Linked DNA regions of Homo sapiens: region 2 is linked to region 1. Evidence: promoter capture Hi-C in human tissues and cell types (Jung and others, 2019). All regions are on one chromosome and are shown on one strand. Each heading gives the region's core, a stretch centred on a gene start or on the middle of the fragment in contact. The rest is flanking DNA. Distances are from core to core; before and after follow the strand shown.

Region 1 (2,746 bases), core at 78-2,577:
GGAAGCTCAGGCAGGAGAATCACTTGAACCCAGGAGGCTGAGGTTGTGGTGAGCTGAAATCACGCCATTGCACTCCAGCCTGGGCAACAAGAGCGAAACTCCTTCTCAAAAAAAAAAAAAAAAAAATGTATCAAGTAAGTACAAAGTACCTACAAAACTTGAATATCAATTTAGCCTTGAATAAATACCACACTTTTTACTTCATTGTGGCATTTTAAGCCTTATTTAGAAGCGTTTAATATATTTTGCTCTGAACATATTATTTCTGAGTTCCAAATTATTGACATAAATAAATGTTGAGGACACAATATGTTTATAGACAGAGCCACAGGCATTTGTATGCAGCATTGCAACTCTTCCCTGAACAGAACAGGTCAGTTCTTCACAGTTTGATTGGGCTGAAGTAGAGGGCAGAATCTTACCAGCCTCTGCTTATTTCTGTTTAGCTTTTCATATTTAAGGGGTTATAGAAAACCAGTGCAGGCCAAGTGACCCAGTTTCTAGCATGTACCTATGGAACTGAGGAGGATAAAAGGGAAAACAGCATTTCCTAACTTCTTAGATTGTTCAGAGGAGAGAATTTCTGCATCCCCACCTTACTTTCACAATAAAAATAACTGTCTTATCAGGGAAGCCACCTTCCTGAATGGGTGAAGGGGACCATTATTTATTGAGCTGTTAATTCTTTCCAAGAGCTGTGCCCAGAAGATTTTTTTCTCTTATTTGAACAGAGATAAAAAAGTTATCTAGAAAATCTCTTTCCCCTCACCCTAAATCAAACGAGTTGAATGGAGGAAAGTGAGGTGATTAAGTGACTTTGAAACATATTTTCCACCCCTCCACCCGCCCACTCCTACTTATCCAGTTAAAGTGAAATCAAAGAAATAGGGAGCCTGGTATAGTAATTCAATACAGTTTATACAAATAATTATCTTATAGTATATTTTAAGAGAGTAACTAGAAGTCCATCCTTTCAGACTTCATGTTTCATTTGTTTAGAAAGCAATAGAAATAGGACTCCAAACTTTATTTTTCACTTTATAAAGGTATGATTTACTCTTATTTTTGAGTATATAAATCTGAGGCTCTTCTATTTCTAGAAGGGATATTTACAAGGCTTTAAGGGCTCAGAACAAAAGTGTGGAGAAGACACAGAGCATAAAATCTGTAATATTTATCATAACTACCAAAAACATTTTCACTGAAATTTGTTAAAATTTCTTACATAAAAGAAATGTTTTAATTAGACAACCTCGACGGTTCTTACCTTGACTTTGAATGCTACAGCAACTGCAACAAGTCCATCCTTTTTCTGATGTTAAAGTCTCACTTTAAATGGTTAGTTGGCTTTTTATTTGTTTGTTTTTATGAGTCCAATGATGATTAACCATCTTATTAGGTCATTGTCCTAGGCAAACAGAAAAAACATACCTAGCTAATTCTAGGAGTTCACCCCAGAAGCCTATCTTTTAAACATTTTATTAATAATTTCTCAGAATGTACACATTATGTTAACATTAGAAAATAAATTATTTCTGGGAATGATTTATTTCTTATTCAATTAAGTTGGTTGCATAAGATTTTCTTCTTTAGAAATACAAATACAACACATTATCCAAAGTATTTAAAACTATTCCAAATAGAAAATATGTCAAGGCGATTTTTTAAAATGTCCCTACATGTTACATTAGCATTCAAAAAATAAAACATACCCTCTTTGCTTGTTACATGTGTATGGATCTAATATGACGTACATGGACACTGGATATCTCACATGGAATACTAAATTGCCAATTAATTACAAGACTAGTCTTCTAAATGACAAAAATCAAGACTAGTTTGTATGATATATTCCTTACATCAATGTGTAAAGGAAGAATGATCTCCTTCTATTGACTTGCTCTTTAGAGAATGGAAGACCTTCACTCAGTTGAAACTTTTCTTGAGTAAGGATGAAGTCAAATTAATTAATTCAGTAACTCAAACATATTTGACTCCCTACTATATCTCAGGCACATGGCTGTGTTTTAGAAGTGTACTATAAAAATATAAATAATAAACGGAGTCTTCTCTCACATGTATATATACACACACATGCATGAGTGTATGTATATATGTATTTATGTGTATGTGTGTATGTATATAGCAAAGAGAGAATGCATGTATGAAAACATTGTTACCCCTTATCACTGACAGGACAGTTGTTGATACAGTTGCAGCAATATGTATTTAATTTCTATATCACAGTTATTTGATAAACTAGTTTTTTTTTTTTTTTTTGAGACGGAGTCTTGCTCTGTCACCCAGGCTGGAGTGCAGCGGCACGATCTCGGCTCACTGCAAGCTCCGCCTCCCGGGTTCACGCCATTCTCCTGCCTCAGTCTCCCGAGTAGCTGGCACTACAAGCGCCCGCCACCACGCCCGGCTAATTTTTTCGTATTTTTAGTAGAGACGGGGTTTCACCATGTTAGCCAGGATGGTCTCGATCTCCTGACCTCGTGATCTGCCCACCTCGGCCTCCCAAAGTGCTAGGATTACAGGCGTGAGCCACTGCGCCCAGCCTAGATTAGTTCTATACCTGGTTAATTCATGGAAGTATTAGAATAATGAAAGGAACCGGAGTGTGGAGGGAGAGAAGGATTAGAAAATGTGGGGAACACTGAAGTGTAGACCTGGGGCAGGGAAAATTAGATATAGGCTCCCAAACACCCCTCTGTTGAGTCAAAATCTACTGGGGAGCCTTTGT
Region 2 (2,762 bases), core at 119-2,618, 170 kb after region 1:
AGAGCAATTTCATTAAGATTGACATCTATATCCCTGAGTATAGCCCATCTCCAGTGATATGAGCCCATTACATTTACAAATAATTCACAGGCAAGAGAATTACGATCATATTTTATGTCTGTACTTGGGCTATTTATGAAATTGATCATACTAGAATTTTCTGGATTTGGGACAGGTGTGCTTTTACCTCTGCTATAATATTATCCATGCTAACTTGGGTGAGTTACTTAAAATCCACTTCCTTATCTTAAAAATAAGACAGAGTAAAAAGTCTTATTTATCTTAAAAATACGGGAATAATATTGCCAAATTCATGGTACAATTGTGACAATTACATTAGGAAATATATTTTAAAGGGCCAGATACACGGTGAATTTGTAATTTGTGTAAACATTATTCATGTAAAATAAATTGCTGCTGTAGAACAAGACAGAACTAGTATAGATCACCAGCTTTCTCCCAGAATCAATGCTGGATTTGTAAGAATAAAATAAAATATCTTCTGCCTCCATCGGTAGAAGATAGTAATGACCTGTTATGGTAGGAAAATGGCAGTCTGGGAGTAGGGTTCCACTTTTGGGAGATATGTTGGAAGCCAGCTTCTTAAATTATCTTCTCCTGTTGCAAGCTGGGAAGATTACTATATGCCAGTAGTTACTATTATTGTTGCAAGTCAGAGAAACCTGTGCATGAGCATAGCAGTACGGAGGTGGATGGGGGGCAGTATCACAGTGTTGGCAGAGCCTGTTTGGGGTAAGGAATTGATAACATCTATTCCAGGTGAACTTGCAGCTTTTGAGCTCTAATCCTTTTGAGCTCTAATCCACCCTGTCCCCCACCCCAAGGCCCAGGCCCAGAAAACTTTATAGGTAATGTTTTATTTTAAAAAAACAAAAAAACAAAAAACAAACTTTCAACAAGCAATTAATCCTAAGTAAATAATCTAGTGCCGAAAATACAAGAAGAAAAGCTGCCAAACTCATTTTATGAGGCTGGTACAATCTTGATTTAAAAACGAGGTAAAGACAGTATGTATATTTAAACATGTTCCTTTTGCTTTCGAGTACAGGTTTAAAAGTACTAAATAAAAAAAAAATCACTAACCAAATCCAGCTGCTTATCTAAACATATACATCTAGTTATATGTGTGTATGTGTAGGAGAATAATACTGTCATCAATCACTTAGATTGAAGAATAGAAAACCATCTGTCCTGTTAGCAGTCAGTGACATGTTTATTAATCAAATATTCACTTAGCATGTACTCAGTATTATGCCAAGTGCTGGCATCTCCATTGTTCTTGTCATTAATTCTCTGGTAACCCAACCCAGGAGCAAAGACACCCAGGAAAGAAGCTAGCAAGGTCAATGTAAGTTACTGACAGGTTTCTATGTAATACATAAAAATGCTCAAAGATTCCTCTTCTTCTTCTGGCCAGGGTAGGCAACTGAGAAGGATAAGAAATGCTATCAGAGCTATCCTTATTTTATCCTTATTCTCATCATACTTCTTCCTTCATCTCTGCATTTTGGACAAACCCCTAGCCTTCTCGATGACACCTTCACTCATGTGGCAACCCCCTCGCCCTCTTTAATAACATATAGACGCACATGCATACACTAGCACATGGTACACCCTACCTCTTTCCCAGAGTCCGCCCATCTCCCTCTTCCGTCTTGATACACTTGTTTTCTCAACTTTCTCCTTTTCCCTCAAGCACAGAGTTGAAGTGAGCTGGTATGGAGGGTTGGAGTTGTATGTAAATTCACAGATTTTAAGATCCAAATTTATATATTTTGTATTTAAAATTTTGTCTATGCTCCTATGCACCATAGGGTAAGAAGAAGTAATAAAGAATAGAGGTAACACTTTAAATATTTTTTTTTCTTTTGGAATATAGTTAATACTCTGGTAGTTCTGCCCCTCTAGCATGTACCATGTCACTTCAATATCTAGCTTTAAAATCAGTGGGCACATCATGTACAGCTGAATTGAACTGAACTAAATATAGGTTGAGCAGGACTATTCTCATTGCTGCCATGAAATAGCTACATGATCACAGGTACTTCTGAGGCATTCTCCCCACTTCTCAAACTTAAATCAGAATGAGAGGTGTTAGGGAGAATATGCTTTAGAGAGGAAACTCTTTGAAAATAAAAACTACCTTCAAAAATAACTGGATCGATGAATGAATATGAATGGATTTTTTATTAAGTAAAATGCCCAACTGAAAGGGACTATGAATGACACCAAACATTATTTATCTCCTTATGCAATTGGGTATTCACCATACATTAATTTATCCTAAGTTTGATTGAACAAATACATTTTTATCACATTTATATTATTGAGTTGACCATATTTCTTGTCTTTCTATTGCTACTACCATGAAATTACTTTAATTCTCTGTTTAAATCTAGATTCTTCAATTTTTGTAAGGATTCTAATTACAAATTTAAAAGCTTTCCTACTTACCCTCTTTTCTTGAAAACCGTTAAAGGTACACTTAGAACTATAATAAGAAATTTAGTTTCTAATATTTGCACACATTATCATATTAAAGTTAAACCAACCCCATTTTAACTTTGGTTCCTCTTATGCTTCTTTTCAACTAAGGATTTATTTAGATAGGACCATTAGAAATATAGTCCAAAATAAATATTAAAACAAGTAGGTATACAGCAAATTTTTGTATGTGCTGATTATAACTAATGATAAGTGAAGATTTTAATAAATATTCATATTAATTTACAATCTCAGCA

The links. The method cuts DNA at HindIII sites, captures the fragments that hold promoters and counts their contacts. A contact is called where the count stands out against the background at its distance.
Region 2: a fragment that was not itself captured here is called in contact with the fragment with the promoter of SLCO1B3 in region 1 in 1 of the 25 tissues and cell types used here (hippocampus).

The regions. Positions count from the first base shown.
Region 1 is chr12:20,809,286-20,812,031 of GRCh38, reverse strand. SLCO1B3 (solute carrier organic anion transporter family member 1B3) reads right to left here and starts at 1,327. Exons shown (of 16, transcript NM_019844.4): 1 at 1,268-1,327. The HindIII fragment of the contact is 19,974 bases long and covers 1-2,746 here.
Region 2 is chr12:20,641,959-20,644,720 of GRCh38, reverse strand. All of the region lies in intron 10 of PDE3A (phosphodiesterase 3A), which reads right to left. Among named protein-coding and RNA genes, the nearest start is that of SLCO1C1, 52 kb to the left of the region's middle. The HindIII fragment of the contact is 6,217 bases long and covers 1-2,762 here.